2 separate regions of the Homo sapiens genome follow, and region 2 is linked to region 1. Evidence: promoter capture Hi-C in human tissues and cell types (Jung and others, 2019). All regions are on one chromosome and are shown on one strand. The core of a region is centred on a gene start or on the middle of the fragment in contact, and the rest is flanking DNA. Distances in the headings are between cores, read along the strand shown. Region 1 holds the start of ZNF195 (zinc finger protein 195). Region 2 has its middle 59 kb from the start of ZNF195.

Region 1 (6,141 bases), core at 2,874-5,373:
GTCAAACTCTGATTTAACTCTGTAGTTAAACTCCAAACTGATTTAACTCTGTAGCTAAACCCAAAACTCTGATTTAATTCTGTAGTTAACTCTGTCGGAGGAGAGTCCAGGGTGAAGCCAGACCTGGATGAGACTCAGAGAAGGAGAGTCTGGGCATGTCTGGGCAGGGAGAGGGCCCTACGCAGGATTCTGCTCTCTATGCTACTAGAGTATTTACAATTCTGTTTTTCCTAAAACTGCCCCCCACCCCAAAATTTAAATCCCAGGGTTTGTATAATTTTAATCTATTTTGGCCACTTCCTTGTCTATTTTATAACATAAAATAACAAGCAATTTAACCGAAACCTTTAGGATTTTCTAGGACAGATATGGTAGAAGCTAAATATTTATTTTTAGCCGGGCAAAAGCAACAGAAATAATACCACCACCACCTTGTCTGTCTGAATATCCCTTCAATATGACATCAGAACTCACAACAACCACATCAGGAAAATGGCCCAAATGAAGCAGAAGTCCCTTTGACCACTCCCTTCTTCATGCTGACCCCAAGACGCTGAATTCAATGATTTATCCAGTTACTGGAAATGGAAAAGTTTCTGGCTTGCGGGGACCATGGCTGCCTTCTCTGTTTTCCTAATGGCTACACAGGATGGAATCAATTAGTTTATCAGTTTGAATCTCCAGATCTCATTTTTGTTTTTTACTGAAGTACCAGAAAAACTGGAGTAATTCCCATGTGGATACCAATGAGGTTTCTTCTCTGAGGGGAGGAACAAACCCTGGGTGACTCATTTCTCTTATTCTACAACAGAAGCACAGATAGACCGTTTTGTCAGCCTGAGCCCCGTCTGCACAGTGCACTCCTGAATGTCCAAAAGACTCCAGGTGCTGGTGAGAGAGTTCCTGGTGACCCTGCACAGATGCCCTCTATGGCCATGAGATCCATGATAGTTGCTACCTTCTCCCTGTTGCAATCCTCCTTTAGAGTTCAATAACTTCCTATCTAAAGCTAAATTTATTTTATTTGACGAAGTCTAGAAACAGCCCCAGGATAATAACGATTCCATACCCAGGAAGTCCTCCCCAGCTTCCTTCCATCCCAACTCTAACTGCATCTGCCTGTGGGTCCCCAGTGCTCCCGGGCTCTGCAGCTTCTCTCTGTAGAAAGGCTCCTTCCATGGTTGCTGTGAGCAGTCTGGCGCACCCGCAGGGGAGGCTCCTTGGGAAGCACTAGCTAGGCCAGGGGTGTCCGATCTTGGCTTCCCTGGGCCACACATAAAATACACTAACACTAACGATAGCTGATAACTGAAAAAAAAAAAAAATCACAAAAAAGTCTCATAATGTTTTAATAAAGTTTACGAATTTGTGTTGGACCACATTCAAAGCCCAGGCCAGCATGTGGCCCAGGCCTGTGGGTTGGACAAGCTTGAGCCAGGCCTTCGATTGCTTTCTTTTGCAGACTCAGTATTAGCCTTAGCTTGGAATGACTGTTCTTGGGCTTCAACTTCCCAATCAGGGTTATCCACTTAGGTTTAAATAAGAAAATACCCAGTGTTGGAAACATCCAACAAAATCACTGAAACAGTTTACAGAAGAAAAGGAAACTGTAAGCACTTACACTTTCACCTCCACAGAAAAAGCAAAATTATTTATTGCTTTCAGACAATGAACTTGTCATTTAACTATTTCCATAACAAATCATATAGTAAACAATCACATGTGAACACTTTTAGAAGTGCTAAGTTCCATCTCCTACAACTTAGCATTAAGCTCAGACATCTAGAGAACAGGATATAAAACAGAGATACTCATGACAACAAATTCATCCTGCAAAAAGAGCTCATGTTCTGATGAATCTATGCAATTTACCAAGTAATCTACCATAATTTTTTTGTAGAAAATGTAAACATTCTCCACAGCCATCCAAGAAGCATTTTATGTTCCCTGGTAGCATTCCCAAAGCTAAGCCCTGGGATTCTGTTGGAAATCATCTTCCACAAAAGAACAGACCTAAGTAACTTTCTACCCTTAATCACTCTGGAGAAGAAAAAGGTATGTATGACTAGATATTTAACTTTTTTCCTGAAATTGACCTATTTCATGTCCTTTGTAAGTATTTTCTTACCTTTCAAGCTCTACTGATAAAATGTAAATTTACAATTAAAAATCCAACATTGCAGTAAGTGAATAAATTATTTCAAGGAGACACAGAGAGTGGCAGTGCCGACTGGAACACAGACACAGCTAATGACTTGTGTCAAGTCAGGCTATTCTATTCCTTGGGAGATTCTCCCACCTCCATCCTGTTCACCGAAGTGCTCACCGGCCACCCCCGATGATACACTGCACTGTGCCCCGCTGAGTGTCCCAGGTGAATTTTGCTTTACAGGTTTTGCACCATCTCACGGGGTGGAGTTTTTCTTGCTCTTTGAAACATTCTGTCTCCCTTCACAAATCTGAGAGTCCAAAGGGCAGAAATGATTTCGGTCTTTTCCCTCTGACAGGGGCATGTGATTGGCTGATCAGCCATGTGTCTCCAGGGATTGAAAGTTGGGTTGGGTGAAGACAATCTTAATGTCCTAAGTGGTTACCTCTTTAGAGGAAGAGTAGACCAGGAGATTTCTCTCAGCCCAGGGCATCCAGCTGCTCCCTGGAGAGGCCACACTTCATACCTCAGGCTGTCCTCTGAGAAATAACCCAGGGCCTGAAATTCACTAGATGCTCCAGCAGACATGGCCATGGTGGGCATCCTGTGTTATCCCTGGACAATACTGAAACTGAGGAAAAAGTCCAGAGGGTGGCTGAGAGCAAATCACCCTGTCAAGTTTCCAAAGTGGAACCTCAAACCAAAGACATTCTGGTAAGGTGTCTGTGCCTAGGGAAAATAAAAAGGAGGAGAGGCACAAAGACTTTTTACAATAGCGTCAGGGGATGATTCTCTGCTTTCCTGTCACGTGGAATGATTACAAACAGAAAACAAATCTCTTAAAAAGTGCCGTCCAGGCTGGGCGCAGTGGCTCACGACTGTAATCCCAGCACTTTGGGAGGCCAAGGCAGGCGGATCACATGAGGTCAGGAGTTCAAGACCAGCCTGGCCAACATGGTGAAACCCCGTCTCTACTAAAAATACAAAAATTAGCCGGGCGTGGTGGTGCAGGACTGTAATCTCAGCTACTCGGGAGGCTGAGGCAGGAGAATTGATTGAACCCGGGAGGCAGAGGTTGCAGTGAGCCGAGATCGCGCCACTGCACTCCAGCCTGGGGGACAGAGCGAGACTCCATCTCAAAAATAATAATAATTAAATAGCAGGCAATCCGACTGAGGTGGCTCTAGTGCCCTGGGTTCTTAGGTTAAAAAAAAAAATCTAACTCAGATGCGTTTCTTGCAAATGACTATCTTGCAGAAACAAAATTCAGGCTTCGTCAACCACAAACCTCTAATTAACTTCTGATTACAGGACCAGAAAATTTCAGCCTAGATAGCTGAAATCAGGAGATGACGTAACTGTACCGAACTAATGAATGAATGTGGTTTGCTTCCTCATGCACCTGATAAAAGCCTTTCCTTCAAGGCCGGCTGGTGGGACCTCCAAACCCAAAAAACATGGTTGGGTCCTCTGCCATTCATGAATCGCTCTTTGCTCAAATAAAACTCTTTCACATTTTTGCAAGGACTCCCTCGAGAGAAAGGAGGGACTGGGGCCCCCACGGGCTACAGATCATCCTCTTATGCACAAACCACCCACGGAGTCGGGATTCTCCCTTCCTGACTCGGGGAGACGAGGGTCTGCGGGCGAAGAGCTGCCGGGGGGACATGGCTCTGGGCTTGGGCCAAAGCCGCTCTGCAGGGATGCGCCGGGGCGCGCGGGGCCCGGCCGCCATGGTGCAGCTGGAGGGGCCTCGGGTCCGCGGAGCCCGGAACCCACCCGGGCAGCCCGGTTCCTCCCGAGCCGGTACCGCGGGTTCCAGTCCGCCCCTCCCTGTCTCTCAGGAGGCCTGGCCCCTACACTCACCATCTCCTGGCCTCCAGAGAGCCTGGCGTTTCACTTCTGGATCTCCCGGTGCCTGCGGGTCACACGACCTACGGCTAGCAGGGGACACAGAGCCGCGGGGACAGGAAGTGGAGCTCTGTCGGGACAAAGGCCCCGCTAGATCCCGGAAGCCGTCCTCTCCTCTCCAGACATGTGCCTGATTGGACAGTCCCCGCCCCTACTCCTCTGATTGGATAGGGCATCACGCCCCGCCCCCTCAGGCCCTGAGTGACAGGAGCTGTAATCAGACAATGGGCCGAATGAGACAGCAAGGACAGGTGCTGGCCGCGATCTTTTGGAGCGGGGCTTCCTGCCTGCGCTGTCCGGCCCCACCTAGAGGATATTTACATTTCATCTTGTGACTGCGGTTATGTTTATTTATAAATAATAAATATATGTTATTCACCAATGGAAAGAAGAAAATAAAGACAATCATTTTGAATTTTTATATTTTATGGCCTTCCTGGCTTTTGGTCCTTTGAACAGACAGCCTGAAATTTCAAAAAGGATTCAAGCCTCTAAGAATTAAAATGTAAGCCATGTGTGAATCTTAAATTTTCTAGTAGCCACGTTTTAAAATGTACTAAGAAACAGGTGAAGTTGATTGTAATAATTTAACCCAGTATGTAACCATTTTCCTCTATGGTCAATATACAATTGGTAAGGAAGTATATATTTTGGGGTACTAAATCTTTGAAGCTCACTCTGTATTTTACCTTTTCAGCACATTTCAGTTCAGACCAGCTGTATTCCTGTTATTCAATAGCCACACATGATCAATAGCTGCCACACTAAAGTGCAGCTCTGAGGTCTAACCTCCCTTATGTCAGGAAGTGGAGGGTCTGAAAGTCCCTTTTCAGCCAGAGGTGAGGGAACAGCCTCTTGCTACAAACATCTCTCCTCCGGTCGAAGGGTGGACGAGATGGTGATCCTAGAGAGCATAGGGGAAAGCAAAAGAAAATATCCACGGGTAGAGGACTGCTGCCCATCAATAATGGGGCCCTAAGAGGAGAGAACACATCTTCAGATCTGTCCATAGCCTTGACCTCCAACATTTAGATATGGAGGAAATAGACTAGAGGCAGACTTATCTTGCTATTTGGCCTTAGCCCTAATGATCAAGCTGTGATTGTCTGTTTCTTCCCGTGGTTGGGGGGCTGTGTGAGTAAAAGCACCAATCACATATATACATGTGTACATGCATTTCTGTATGACGGAACATTATCTTACAAAAGATCCAACTTTAAATAAGGGGGGAGAATTAGTACCTATAAAGTGCTTTCTTCTTGCAGGTAACTAGGAATCAACCTTTCATTGAATCCTGGCACCCTATCTGCCCTGGGTGCATGTATTAGTTAGCTATTGCATAACAAATCACCGAAAACTTAATAGCTCATGATTGAGTTCATCAGCCATTCACGCTGAACTCAACTGAGCTATTCTTGTCACAACTGGACTGCTTCATGTATGTATGGCCAGCTGCTGGTTGACTAGGTGGCTCTGCTTCTGGGGATGAGATGGCTATCAACAGTGGCACCTTCCTTCTCCCCACCATGGTATGTCATCCTCCAGCTGGCTAATCTCATAAAGATAGCAAGGTTCTGATAGCTTGATCTCATAAAGATAGCAAGGTTCTGAGAAACACAGAAGCATTTAAGACCTTTTGAGCCTAGGCCCAAAACTAGCACAAAAGCTGTCATATTCGCAGTTGATACGGTCTGGCTGTGTCCCCAGCCAAATCTCAACTTGAATTGTATCTCCCAGAATTCCCGTGTGTTGTGGGAGGGACCGGGGAAGGGGGTAATTGAGTCATGTGGGCGGGTCTTTCTCATGCTATTCTCATGTTAGTGAATAAGTCTCACGAGATCTGATGGGTTTATCAGGGGTTTCCACTTTTGCTTTCTCCTCATTTTTCTCTTGCCGCCACCACGAAAGAAGTGCCTTTTGCCTCCCGTCATGATTCTGAGGCCTCCCCAGCCATGTGGAACTGTAAGTCCAATTAAACCTCTTTTTGTTCGCATGTTCAGGAATGTCTTTATCAGCAGTGTGAAAACAAACTAATACAACAGTTTTCTATAGCCAGAGAAAATAGTGCCAGCCAGATGCAA
Region 2 (6,094 bases), core at 1,803-4,302, 59 kb after region 1:
AGTGCTGCCAAATTGGGAGCCCAGGCAGAGGAGGCACCGAGAGTGAGCTCCAGGGCTGCCAGAACGCTGACACCTCTCAATAGCACATGAGGGTTCTTGCCTTTGCCCAGGAAAGAATTCAAGGGCAAGCTGGAGGTTTAGAAGAAAACAGCTTTATTGAAGAGGCAGTGTTACAGCCCTGTGACTGCTCCTGTAGGGCAGGGCTAGCCTGGAGGCAGAGAGTAGAGGCAGAGAGTTTGCAATCACATTTATACCCACTTTTAATCGCATGTAGATTAAAGGGCAGTTTATGCAGGAATTTCTAGAAAATTGGTAGTAACTTTTGAGTCATTGGATCATTGTCATGGAAAGTGGCAGTAACTCCCGGGTGTTGCCATGGCAATAGTAAACTCACATGGCACATTGGTGGGCATGTCTGGTGGAAAGCTGCTTCTGCCCCAGCCCTGTTTTAGCTAGTCCTCAATTTGGTCTGGTGTCCAAGCCCTGCCTGTGGAGTCAAGTCCTGCCTCCTATCTCACAGTGGCGTGATCATGGCTCACTGCAGTCTCAACACCCCCGGGCTCAAGCAGTTCTCCCACCTCAGCCTCCTGAGTTGCTGGGACCACAGGCACGTGCCACTATGCCCAGCTACAGTTTTTTGCATTTTTTGTAGAGATGGTGTTTCACTGTGTTGCCCAGGCTGGTCTCAAACTCCTGAGCTCAAGCAGTCTACCTACCTTAGCCTTCTAAAGTGCTGGGCTTACAGGTGTGAGCCGCTGCACCCAGCCCAAGCTTACATTTTTAATCTCAAGTCACTTCTCTCTAGGTTTTGATTTCTTCTTTAAAATGGTGGAACTAAGAGCATCTATTTTATAGGGTTGTTGGGAAGACAAAAATGAAAGAACTGCTATTCAATGTTTAGCGAAGCGCTACGCACAATTTTGAATAATGAAGTTGCTGTTTATTTTTTATTTTTTATTTATTTTTTAGAGACGGGGTCTTGCTCTGTTGCTCAAGCTGGAGTGCAGTGGTGCAATCACAGCTTACTGCAGCCTTGACCTCCTGGGCTCAAGAAATCCTGCCACCTCAGCCTCCTGAGTAGCTGGGACTACAGGCATGCATTGACATGTCTGGCTATTTATTTATTTGTTTGTTTTTTGTAGATATGGGGTCTCCCTATGTTGCCCGGGCTGGTCTTGAACTCCTGGCCTTAAGCAATCCTCCTGTCTTGGCCTCCCAAAGCACTGAGATTACAGGTGTGAACCACCATGGCCAGCCTTATTTTTATTTTTAAATCAGCCTTGTCCAGTTGAATTGGTCATTAATCTTGTATAATGGTAATTTGGGGCAGCATTGGTTGGGCGGGGGGTGGGGAACATTTGGGACCCTGTGGGCTACAACTCGTAGTATGTGCACTTATTTTATTTTATTTTGTTTTATTATATTATGTTATATTATATTTTTTTTGAGACAGGGTCTCACTCTGTTGCCCAGACTGGAGTGCAGTAGCATGATCTTGGCTCACTGCAGCCTCTGCCTCCCAGGTTCAAGCGATTCTCCTGCCTCAGCCTCCAGAGTAGCTGGAACTACAGATGCACGCCATCACTCCCGGCTAAGTTTTGTATTTTTAGTAGAGATGGGGTTTCACCATATTGGCCAGGCTGGTCTCAAACTCCTGACCTCAGGTGATACACCTGCCTCAGCCTCCCAAAGTGCTGGGATTATAGGCGTGAGCCACCGTGCCTGGCTGTGCACTTATGTTTGATTTTTGAGAACCACCCTTCCCTAATGGTTGTCTCCTAGATCCAAGGTGACTTTATTCATTTTAGAATGAACTTATCCCATTAATACTGTAACTAGAGTTGGCATACATCACGATTGGCAGAACCCGGTCATGTTTAGCGAGATGGAAGTGTTCTGGAAACTCCTCCTTCTTGTAGACCTGGAGGTGAGGGTGCGCATTCTTCAGTGCCTGGTAAAGGGCTTCCTCTTGCCCCAATTTGGGTAGGGGCAGCCCAAAGCCACCGTAGCCCGCAATATCAAACTTGACCCAGACCCTGAACTTGATGTAGTTGGTCAAGGGATCTTGTTGACGTTGGGTCTCTTCTTCACGGTGGTCACCCCATGGTCTGATGTGATGATGACGCTGAGGTGCTCTGCAGGCTGTGCTTCTCAGTGGCTCCCACCAGATACACGATGGTCCTGCCGATTTGCTGAATCATCAACTTCCTCTTCTCTGCCTCTGGCCCGAATCGATGTCCCACGTTATCTGGCTCTCTGTAGTACAGAGTCACAAAGTCAAAGTCTTCTGTGCTGAAGCAGTTCATGACGGTATCGATGTTCTCCCTCCGCTCTGTCTCGTTGCTGTTTGGGTGAGTGTAGGACTCCACCAGGGACCGCTTGACAGCCTCACCCTCGTATTTAGCACCTCCCCTGGAATAGTGGGATGATGCTGCTTTCTTCCCCTTAAAGTACAAGAAGAAAATTCCATCAGGGCCATTTCTCATACCTTTCTCACAATCAGCAAAGCTCGAGTTATCTACATCTGTGCCCCAGTCCAAAGACATAGAAAATATGTGGTGTTTGGAGTCAGACAGGGTGGAGTTAGATTCTGGGCTTCCCCAGGATCTCATAGCATCTACAACACTTTTAGTTACAAGATGTGCTATTATTTTATGGGTTACTAAGCAGAAAAATGCTGCCAACAAGACCGTGACATTCCAGTGATTGTAAGGTGTATTCTAACTTCAGAGATGGCAAAATGAAAAATAATTCCTTAGAAAAGAGGGAGATGGTAATTTCTGAGTTGTTGGTGGTGAATCTGTGCATGTGTGTTTTTTATATATATACACACATATATATACACATACGTATACATGTATATATATATGTGTATATATAGACATAACTATATACATATACATATATATATGTGTATATATAGTGGTGCAGTGGTACAATCATACCTCATTGCACCCTTGAACTCCTGGGCTTAAGCGATCCTCCCACCTCAGCCTCTTGAGTAGCTGGGGCCACAGGCATGTACCGCCATACCTATTTTTTTTTTTTTTTGAGACACAGTGTCACTCTCTCACCTAGGCTGGAGTGCAGTGGCACGATCTCAGCTCACTGCAACTTCTGACTCCTGGGTTCAAGCAATTCTCGTGCCTCAGCCTCCCAAGTAGCTGGGATTATAGACACGTGCCACTATGCCCAGCTAAGTTTTGTGTTTTTAGTTGAGATAGAGTTTTGTCGTGTTGGCCAGGCTGGTTTCGAACGCCTGGGCTGAAGTGATCCACCTGCCTTGGCCTCCCAAAGTGCTGGGATTACATGTGTGAGCCACTGTGCCTAGTCCTAATTTTTTTTTTTTTTTTTTTTTTTAGTGTTTGTAGAGATGAGATCTCGCTAATTTGCCCAGGCTTGTCCTGAACTCCTGGGCTCAAGTAATTCTCCTGCCTCAGCCTCTCAAAGTGCTGGGATTACAGACGTGAGATACCGCGCCCGGCTGGTGGTGAGTTTTAAAATTTTCCAGTGTCTCAGTGTTTCTACCTGTAGAATGCCAAAAAGTAGATGGCATCTTTGCAAGGATTAAGCCGACTAGCTTTTTTTTTTTTTTTTTTTTTTTTGAGACAGAATTTCTCTCTTGTCACCCAGGCTGAAGTGCAGTGGCGTGATCTTGGCTCACTGCAACCTCTGCCTCCTGAATTTAAGTGATTCTCCTGCCTCAGCCTCCCAAGTAGCTGGGATTAAAAAGCCAGCTAGCTTTAAGATACAGTGTTGGGCATCACATTTTGGCACGGAGCAGGCACTCTTTTCTTTGCCCCCACGTGGGACTAAGCCACCACAAGCCTTCCCTGGTGTGTGCAGTAGGTAATGAATGCTTGCCTGCTCAGCACCCACTACATGCTGGGCTGGGTCACATTACTCTGACTCCCCCTTGAGCTTCAGTCCATGCCTGGTTCAAGATGTATTGACTCAACTCGAGGATCCGGAGGTGGGATGTGGCTCTGGCCTGGCCAGAGGACCGAGGATGCTGCATGCCATGGCTACAGCAACCGGTTCAGCTTTGGGCTCATGTCCTAGTCAGAGCCAATGAGATGTAATCTTGGGATATCTGCTGGGCTGTTCGGAGGGGACAGGCTGCCCTGCTCATCCCCATTCCTGATGCTGAGGGATCTGAGAAAATCACTTGTAAAATTCGGGGCTGTTTGGAAGAAGGGGAGACTGATGTCTCCTTCTCTCTACAGACATCTGCTCAGCTACAGAGCTTGACTGACCTACCCAGAGGCAGAATGATATGGTGGTTAAAAGTGTGCTATGGGCCGAGATCTTGCCATTGCACTCCAGCCTGGGTGACAGAGTGTGACTCCGTCTCAAAAAAAAAAAAAGTGTGCTCTGGGCTGGGCGCGGGGGCTTACGACTGTAATCCCAGCACTTTGGGAGGCTGAGGCAGGAGGATCGCTTGAAGTCAGGAGTTTGGGATCAGACCCTATATCTAGAAAAATGTTTTTAAACAATTAGCTGGGTTGGTGGTGAATGCCTGTAGTCCCAGCTACTCGGGAGGCTGAGGCAGGAAGATTGCTGGATCCCGGGAGTTCAAGGCTGCAGTGAGCTATGATCAGGCCACTGCACTCCAGTTTGAGGGACAGAGAGAGACCGCATCTCCCTAAAGAACAAAAATGTGTGCTCTGGTGCCGCACTGCCTGGTTAGATCCTTTGTCCACCACTTAGATGCATGTTATATAAATGCTCTCCTCAGTTTCCTCGTCTGTAACTTGGGGACGATAGTGCTGCCCCATGAAGTGGTTGTGGGGGCTAAATGCACGTGGGCACATTGGTAAGCATTCAACAAGCTTGATTTTTCCTGGAGAGGGAGAAAGAGCATACAGTGAAGTGGCATGGTCAGGTGCATTGGGGTAAAGATTATTTCCTCTGGCTTCTGCCTCCTGGGAGGTACTAAGGATGGATGTGAAATGTGTCTGCAGACCCCAGAGTTGGGGACTGCAGACAGAAATTGAGATCAGGGCCCCAGTCTGGCAGAAATGGGTGCAGCATGGGGCATTGGGTTCCTTCCATCAAAGGCATGGGGTGTGTTGCAGACAGTCATGAGATGTGGCTGAATCTTGCAAGGGAGCCGCGGTCCTAGGGTTGCTGCTTGAGACAAAGACTGCTGTCAGTGGAACCTGGTGACCTTCACCCTTCTGTGTCAGGCTGCAGACAGCAAGAGATGGCAGCAGATTACACCCAACAGGAAAAGGGCCATTGCCATCCCACAGGTTGCCATAGGAGGAGATGACATCTCTCCCTCTCCTCCTCCAGCAGTGTCAGCTGGGGAAGAGGTGGGTGGGTTTGCACAAAAGAGTAGACCACAGACCATGCTCCTTCTCCTCCAGTCTGCTGGGGCCCCAAGAGAGTCTGCAGCCCTTGGCCAGGGACCAGCTGACACAGGAGAACAAAAGACCTTAGGTTGGGATAACATGGTGGTGCAGTTCATCCTCTGGAGCTCCCTGTGAGATCAGACTGGAGCTGGTGTCCAGCTGAGACCACATCTCACTCAGATCCTTCCCTGCCATATCCTGTTTCCCTTACTCCTATCTCCTGAGAGTTCTTCCTGAATGAATTACATGCATTTAATCCCTGCCTCAGGCTCTGCTTTTAGGGAACTTGACGTAAGACAGAAATCTTAGTACTAAATACTTTGCAAGGCCTCAGAAGCTCTGCTATCCACAAGCGAGATATTACCTTCCTACCACCTGGCAGTCATAGTCTATGATGAGATTCAGCTTTATGGAAGTGCTTCTCTAAAGAACTTCCCCCAATTTAAGACGATCTAAATTTGCTTACTTGTTTACTATCCATTTAGCTGCTCTAAAATATGAGCTCCAAATCAGGGGCCATGTCTGGTTGGTTACTCATTTCCTGAGACCTAGAACGGGCCTAGCTCAGAGCAGGTGCTCACTATTGATGGAATGCATGCTGAAAGAATGCGTGAATCTCATCTCTTTTTGTGGGTGAAAAACTCATCCTATTCTCACCCTGATTAACTTTCTTTCTTTCTTTATTTTTTTTTTTTCAAAATGGAGCCATGATCTGTCACCCAGGCTGGAGTACAATG

The links. Contacts are between HindIII fragments. The study calls those that stand out against the background at their distance.
Region 2: a fragment that was not itself captured here is called in contact with the fragment with the promoter of ZNF195 in region 1 in 1 of the 25 tissues and cell types used here (H1 embryonic stem cells).

Annotation. Positions count from the first base shown.
Region 1 is chr11:3,375,023-3,381,163 of GRCh38, forward strand. ZNF195 (zinc finger protein 195) reads right to left here and starts at 4,124. Exons shown (of 6, transcript NM_001130520.3): 1 at 4,016-4,124. The coding sequence starts at 4,018. It also overlaps the pseudogene TSSC2. RefSeq lists enhancers at 3,825-4,388, 4,077-4,371 and a silencer at 3,830-3,899. The HindIII fragment of the contact is 6,782 bases long and covers 295-6,141 here.
Region 2 is chr11:3,435,423-3,441,516 of GRCh38, forward strand. It overlaps the pseudogene ENPP7P15. Among named protein-coding and RNA genes, the nearest start is that of ZNF195, 59 kb to the left of the region's middle. RefSeq lists an enhancer at 1-341 and a silencer at 2,145-2,313. The HindIII fragment of the contact is 6,241 bases long and covers 1-6,094 here.